2 separate regions of the Homo sapiens genome follow, and region 1 is linked to region 2. Evidence: promoter capture Hi-C in human tissues and cell types (Jung and others, 2019). All regions are on one chromosome and are shown on one strand. The core of a region is centred on a gene start or on the middle of the fragment in contact, and the rest is flanking DNA. Distances in the headings are between cores, read along the strand shown. Region 1 overlaps FADS3 (fatty acid desaturase 3). Region 2 holds the start of SCGB1D1 (secretoglobin family 1D member 1).

Region 1 (3,959 bases), core at 703-3,202, 310 kb before region 2:
CCAACATTCTCGCGATTCTGTGTAATAGCTGGAGTGGGGGTGGAGTACGATGCAGGAGAAGGAAGAAAGAGTAAAGAAAGGGGGTGAGAAGAGAAGACAGACCAGGAGAAAGATAAGGGCCAGGGAAAGAGACCAGCCAGGAAGTGGCCCAGAAGTAAAGTAAGCTTGAACTTCACACCTGGGCTCACTTAGCCTTCCAGGTCTGCCTGTGGTCTTGGTATTGTAATCGGCTCACTAATTGTTCACAGCTCTTGGACTGATTTTTTTCCTTGTACTTTCAGAGGCTTTCTCTGAATGGGCTAGCCAGAGCCATACAGCAGCTTATAGAACCAGTAGCTGGGTGGTGTTGTCCCCATGGGTCTGGAGAAGGGAGGCCTCCCAGTTGCTAAAGGAAACACCTTTGAAGAAAGCTGACTGAGGACAGGGGCCTCCTATTGTCCTCTTGCTAATGAGCCTACCAGCTGGTGAGTCTTAAAACGGAAGTGACAGCGGGCCCTGAAGTCACTGCCAGGACATTCTCCTACCACCCTGGGGGAAGAAAGCACTTCAGGCCCCTCCAGCACCCACTAAGAGGTAACACCTACATGATCTACTAGGGGTCCCCTTGCCTGCTTTTATAGGCCCAGGGCAGCTTGGGGACTGGGGGGCTGGTAGGGTGCCCCTTCTGGAATAACCTGGGCTGACTTGGCTCACTCATTACAGAGGAGGGGGCTGTATAAGTGCAGATCTCACCCCCTCTGGACATGAGTCTTGAAGGAGGGGCAGCAAAACTGGTAGAAAAAAGGGCAGAGGGAAGGCTGGGGGTCCCCAGGAAGCTGTCTGGGCCCCCAGCTACCTGCAGAGCTGGGGCTGGTGTACAGGGGAGCTGGGAGGGAAGAAGACTCTTGGGGTTCTACTGACCCCACTGGGTGTTTTTTTTTTTTTTTTTTTTTTTTTTTTTTGAGATAGGGTCTTGCTGTATCGCCCAGGCTAGAGTGCAGTGGTGCAATCATGGCTCACTGCAGCCTCAACCTCCCGGGCTCAGGTGATCCTCCCACCTTAGCCTCTCTCGTAGCTGTTAGTACAGGTGTGCACCACCATGCCCAGCTAATTTTTTATTTTTATTTTTTGTAGAGATGAGGTTTGCCATGTTGCCCAGCTGGTCTTAAACTCCTGGGCTCAAGCAATCCACCCACCTCAGCCTCCCAAAGTGCTGGAATTACAGGAATGAGCCACCACGCCCAGCCCAGAAAAACACTGAAAAATTTTTTTGAGACAGGGCCTCACTCTGTCACCAGGCTGGAGTGCAGTGATGCAATCACAGCTCACTGCAGCCTTGAAATCCTGGTCGTAAGTGATCCTCCCACCTCAGCCTCCCCAGCAGCTAGGACTACAGGCACATGCCACCATGTCTCATTAACTTTTGAATTTTTTTGTAGAGTCAAGGTCTCACTATGTTGCCTAGGCATGTCTTAAATGCCTGACTTCAAGCGATCCTCCCACCTCAGCCTCCCAAAGTGTTGAGAGTACAGGTGTGAGCCACACCTGGCCTCTAATTTTTTTATTTATCTTTTATTTTTTGAGACAGAGTCTTGCTCTGTCGCCCAGACTGGGTTGCAGTGGCATGATCTCGGCTTACTGCAACCTCCACCTCCCAGGTTCAAGAGATTCTTGTGCCTTAGCCTACTGAGTAGGTGGGATTAGAGGTGCAAGCCACCACACCAGGCTAATTTTTGTATATTTCGTAGAGTCGGGGTTTCACCATATTGCCCAGGCTGGTGTTGAACTCCTGAGCTCAAGCAATCCTCCCGCCTTGGCCTCCCAAAGTGTTGGGATTACAGGCATAAGCCACCACGCCCAGCCAATTTTTTAAAAATTGTAGTAAAATATACATGAAATTTACCATTGTAAGCATTTTTAGGTGTCCAGCTCAGTGGTATTAAGTGCATGCACAGTGTTGTCCAACCATCACCATCATCCAGCTCCAGAACCTTTTCACCTTCCCCAACTGAAACTCTGTCCCCATTAAACACTAATTCTCCATTCTCTCCTCCCCCTGCCCCGGCAACCACCATGCTACCTTCTGTCCATACAGATCTGCCTCCTCCGGAAACCTCATCTGGGAGAAATCACATGTTTGTTCCTTTGCCTCTGGCTTGTTTCACTCAGCACAATGTCCTTAAGGTCCATCCATGTTGCAGCACGTGTCAGGATGTCCTACCTTTTTAAGGCTGAGCCAGCGTGATGGTGAGTCCCTCTTTCTCCTTTGAAACTCCCCAGACACACACGCACATGCAGACACACCCACCAGCCCACACCAGCAGGCATCACTCAGACACTCAGAAACATGCCCACAATCACGGCCCACATGAACACTCAGCCAAACACAGCCTTGCACACATGGTACGCAAAGATGCAGCTGGCACGCACAGACACACCCGGCGCAACGTGCAAGCTGTGGCTGCGGCCCCAGAATCTCCTCCCTCCCAGCCCTTCCCTCTATCACCCCATGTCAGTTCTGGGGCCACCTTATTGAGCTGAGGATCTTGGGTCCAGATTGGTCTCCTCGCCTCCTTTCCCGTTGGTCCTGATTCACCCAGGCCAGCCCTGTCGAGGCACTGACAGGGGAGGACAGAACCAAGCCTGCCCCAGGGCCTTCAAGCCAGATCTACCCCTTGCAATGATAAGGGGAAGTGTGAGCCCCCTCAGGGCTGTGTCAGAGAACCCCAAAGCCATTGACAGGGCTCCAGCTGGGGAAGGGACAGGTGGGGCTGTGACAGTTCCCTGGGAAGCAGGCTGGGCTCTCAGAGCTGGGTGGGCACCCTGGGGCTGTGCTTCTCATGCTATCAGGGAGTGCGAGTAGGGCAGGGGCCTGGACTCAGGCCGAAACCTGGAAGCAAACAGCCTTCTCTGGAACTGGCTGAGGTCATGTGACCTGGTCCTCTGTGGGCCTCTCCTTAAGGATGGGGGTGCCAGGCAGAAGCTAAGACTCAGAGAGGTTAAGCTACTTCTTCAAGGTCACACAGTTCCATTTGACCGAGGTTAGATCAGAGTCCAGGTCTCTTCTCACTCATAAGTGAGAGTTGAACAATGAGAACACATGGACACAGGGAAGGGAACATCACACACCGGGGCTTACTGGGCGGGTGAGGGGCAAGGGGAGGGAGAGCATTAGGACAAATGCCTAATGTATATGGAGCTTAAAACCTAGATGAGGGGTTGACGGGTGCAGCAAACCACCATGGCACATGTATACCTATGTAACAAACCTGCACATTCTGCACGTTTCCCGGAACTTAAAGTGAAGAAAACAAAAACAAAAGCGAAAAACTGTGCTTGTCGCCACTCCTGGAACAGAGGGGAAGCAGCAGTTCTCCTAGGTGGTGTGCGGGGGTCCTTGCCGTGAGGCCAGTCACTATCTCAAGAAGCCAAGGGCCCAGCTGCTGGGAGCCTGGGCTGGGGGGCAGGAAGGCGGTTCTTGGACCTCATCAGTGGAGCCTCAGGGAACTGTGGGAGGTCCCACCCTCACACACCCTAAGTGCACCCAGGAACATCCACCCAGGGGTACGTGCACAAAGCCCTGTCCCCCCAACCCCCACACGCACCCAAGCGAGTGGAAAGCGGCACTCGACGTCTCTCATCGGGTACCGGAGCAGAGCTGGGTGAAAGTGCTGGAATCAAAACGGCACCCCTAAACACAAGCTCCTGGAGGTAGCGACAGGCTCTGTTCACAGTGGCATCCTCAGAGGCCGGCACAGAGCAGCTGCTCAACAGCAGGTATGAACAAGTAGACAAGAGCCAACCCTCCACAGCCCCCAAAGCAGGGGCACGAACCATTTTGCTGGTGAGGAAATGAAGGCTCAGCGGGAAGGGACACCTGCCCAGGTCCCAGTTAGTAGTGGCAGAGCTGGGATTCGAACCCGGGCCCATCTTCTGTGATGTTCATGCTCTCTCAGGATACAGAGACAGCTCAGCCTGGC
Region 2 (3,979 bases), core at 735-3,234:
TAGTAGTCAACATTTATTGAGCGTTTACTACATGTCAGACCTTGTTAATTTTTTTTTCTTTTTTGAGATGGAGTTTTGCTCTTGTTGCCCAGGCTGGAGTGCAGTGGTGCCATCTCAGCTCACCACAACTCTGCCTCCCTTGTTCAAGAGATTCTCCTGCCTCAGTCTCCTGAGTAGCTGGGACTATAGGCACATGCCACCACACCCAGCTAATTTTTTGTATTTTTAGTAGAGACGGGGTTTCACCATGTTGGCCAGACTGGTCTCAACCTCCTGACCTCAGGTGATCCACCCGCCTCGGCCTCCCAAAGTGCTGGGATTATAAGTGTGAGCCACTGCGCCTGGCCAGACCTGGTAAATTTTACACACACACACACACACACACACTCATTTGAACATCTATCAACCCAATGATGTAGGCACCATTTTTAACCTACTTTTACAAACGAGAAAACTGTGTTTACATAAACTAATTTTCAGAGGGTTCAATAGCCCATAGACATGGATCTGAACCCTCCTAGCCATGGGCTTTGCCACTGGACCTTCCACTCCTTAGGGTTGGAGGCAGAGGTGGCATCAGGGGCTTCCCCACCATTTTGGGTGATGGAAGTGAGAGGCATTGTCGCCCTCAGCTGGGACTCAGCCAGACCTGCCAAGGTGTCTCTGATGACACAGACCATAAGGTCCGCTTCCTTCATAAAGGTCTTTCTGGGTGGTTCTCAGTACTGCTGCCCATCAGACCCACCAGAGCAGTTTAAACAGAAGAGGACCTCGCCCTAGAACTACTGAATCAAAATCCCCAGAAAGGGAAGCAGCCTGCGGGGAGTCAGTATAGTTTAAGAGCCCCAAGTGATTTGATTGCAGAGCAGAGAATGGAAAGCTCTGGCCTGGGCTGTGACTGTTCTCAAATGTGTGTTCACTTAAGAGCCAAATTTCTGGTGATTTCCTACTCACCAAATGATGGCACTGCAGTGGAAGGGCAGAAGGGTGTCTATTGCTTTTGCTGGGGATGGCCTTCGCTTTCCATCAACAATGAGATGACCCAGGCAGCAGAGCTGGGTTAGAAGTGGAAAACTTGAGCCCAGAGGTTAGAGGGAAGTGACCACCCACCCTGTTCATCCATCTCTTCCTTTCCATTATCGTCCCTGCCTAGAAGCGAAGACCAGTATTTCTGATGCCTGTTTGCCTCCAGACACCCCAGCAGCTCCTTGGGTAAAAAAAGTTGGGCAATTTAATCATCCCATCAGCCCTATGAGGAGATATGGGTGGCTAGAGGTCACTGGAGGCTTGCTTTTAGTAGACAGAAAATTTGAACCTGTGCTATGTTGACAACTCCACCCATAAATAAAGACACAGATCTTGGAGTGAGACAGAGTAGAGGACAGGGGGAGTGGTTGTTTTCCCCAAGGAAATCCTCCAAAGGTGGGGTGTATGCAGCTATGTTTTAGGTACCTATGTGGTGAAGATGGTGGGGATGGAAGGGGCTGAGTGGGAGGATAGGTCTGGTTCAGACTTGATCTATGTGCAGCTGAAACACGTGTGGCTGATTGTCAGACATGCAGTGGAGGTCAAAGTGGGGTCTCTTCTGTGCCTGCTCTCCTATAACCAAACCACAGCCCCTAGCTTCCTGCACCCCCGGTTTCTGTCCTCCTGAAATGAGAACTCACATTTGCCCTTGCACTGACATAAAGAACAGAGAGATAATCCTCAAAAGCCCAAAAGCAAACTGAGGTTCCAGGGAACATTGCCAGAGGCACCTGGACACTCACCTGGAGCACAGAGCAGAGTTTCTGCAGGGCTGCCCTCCCGTGCTCCGCCCCACTCAGGATGCAGGGAGGTGTGGGGATGTGACACTGATGGATGGCAGCAGCCCTGGCTAGGAAGGGAGGGCTGGAAGCCAGGCCTCATCACCTGCCAGATGCCCATGTGGGCAGGACCAGCCAGGCTCCCTAGGTACAAATAGCCCTGGGCTCCACGGCTCCACAGGCTCCCGGGGCTGAGTCTAAATCACTCATCATTGGTTAAAGCCGAGCTCACAGCAGAATAAGCCACCATGAGGCTGTCGGTGTGTCTCCTGCTGCTCACGCTGGCCCTTTGCTGCTACCGGGGTGAGTACATCAGTCATGAGTCCAGCACCAGCCCTTGGGACACACCCTTCTCTGAGCACGAGGTCACCTATTAAGGTTAAGGTTGGGGTCTGGAACAAACCAAAATTCCAAACCTTATCCTGTGCTTGTTGAAGGAACTGCTCATAAAGCTCGGGCCTCATTTCATCAAATCCCCAGTACCTAGGAAGTTTTGCAGAAAATCAATGCAGGCGAACGTTAGGAATTCTGCCTGAGCTTCACTCTTGGATGGGATCTGTGTCAGATGATGTAATGTGAGGTCTGGGGTGACTCTGGGCTCAGCCACTTCTCAGCCCTTTCACCGTGGGCAAGATGCTCACCCTCCCCGCGCCTCCTCCTATCTCTGGTGCTTAGAGCTTCTTCCGGGAGTGGCAATGGGAATGGAGTGGGATTATTGTGCCAAGGGTCTAGCTGTGGATGTGAAGCCAATCACTGTACTGTCAGACATTCTCGTCCCCAGACCTTTAGGTGCCAATTGAGCTCACAGCTTCTTACATTGTAAATTCAGACTCATAAAATGTTACATCTCGAAGGATCCTTGGAGAACTCTCAGTCCAAGAAGAGATGGTGCTTTCTGATTCTCTCAATAAGAAGCCTGCAAATGAATTCTTAGAATAAGCAGCACTCAATATATCTTCTAGGGGTCCTACCGTAATGGTGGTAGAAATACTACAATGGTTAGCCTCAGAACTTCTATTTTTCTAAAATTAATTCTGGCTGATTTTTCCCCAGTTCATTTGGGTACTTTCCTTTCCCCTGTCAGGACCGATCCAGACTCTGATTTTTCTCTTTCCTCTTCTTTTCTGAACCTCTCCCTGTTTCCCTGTGACACCCCGATCCTACCCTCTCCAAATTCTCCCCACAGTTTGAAGTCGGGTAGTCAGGGGTCATGTTGAGCATGGTGGGGCGCTTTCTGGATGCATGGTGTTTGCAAAAGACTTAGGTGAATGGAGATTCCAGACCAAGCAAAATGATTACTCCAGGTCTTTCCAAAATTCCCAGTGGGAGCAGGAATGAGCCTCAGTTCCCTCCTCTCATCCTCTCCAAATATTCTAGATGCTGCTGCAGAATATGGGCCAAGTACAATTTCCTGTATAAGCTTCTAATGTGTGTTAAAACTGATTCACATTATTTTATTTTGTTTTAATTTGTTTACCTTTTAGCTCTGTCTGTATTGAATCACATAAGCCTAAATTCTACAACTTGTTCTCAAAACATCACCTTCAACATTTCAATAATTTTAACTTCTTCTGTTCCAGATTTACTCATTTCTCTAATTTCTGATAGGATTCTGACTCTACCATTCCACTTCAAAATTTGATTACTCAAAGCCTCCTCTTCACCAATGTCCAAGACTAATAAAGTGTCACTTAACTGGCATAGAAAAGTGATTATTTTCAAATCTAGAAAAGAGAACGTTGGCCATCCATCCAGAGAAGCTTTGGAAAGTAATGAGTGTGCTTTAAAAAAAAAACAAAGACTGAATGAGTGATCAGGAAGTTGGTTCTCCAGTTCTAGCTCTACCCTTTGCTGTGTGACCTCAAGGAAGTCACAACCTCCTGGGTCTGACATTGTCATTGGCATAGTTATTGAATAGAAGCCTAAAACCCTGGGGTTCCTGTCTGGTCTGACATCAGGGAGGCATGGGAGAAACACTGATTTCCTTACACAAATTATATTTTTATTCTTTTGCTCCAGCAAATGCAGTGGTCTGCCAAGCTCTTGGTTCTGAAATCACAGGCTTCTTATTAGCTGGAAAACCTGTGTTCAAGTTCCAACTTGCCAAATTTAAGGCACCTCTGGAAGCTGTTGCAGCCAAGATGGAAGTGAAGAAATGCGTGGATACGATGGCC

The links. The method cuts DNA at HindIII sites, captures the fragments that hold promoters and counts their contacts. A contact is called where the count stands out against the background at its distance.
Region 1: a contact is called between a fragment that was not itself captured here and the fragment with the promoter of SCGB1D1 in region 2, in 1 of the 25 tissues and cell types used here (lymphoblastoid cells).

What each region holds. Positions count from the first base shown.
Region 1 is chr11:61,881,188-61,885,146 of GRCh38, forward strand. All of the region lies in intron 1 of FADS3 (fatty acid desaturase 3), which reads right to left. Among named protein-coding and RNA genes, the nearest start is that of MIR6746, 4.9 kb to the left of the region's middle. The HindIII fragment of the contact is 4,427 bases long and covers 1-3,959 here.
Region 2 is chr11:62,188,232-62,192,210 of GRCh38, forward strand. It overlaps SCGB1D1 (secretoglobin family 1D member 1), which reads left to right and starts at 1,985. Exons shown (of 3, transcript NM_006552.2): 1 at 1,985-2,108; 2 at 3,825-3,979. The coding sequence starts at 2,054. The HindIII fragment of the contact is 12,490 bases long and covers 1-3,395 here.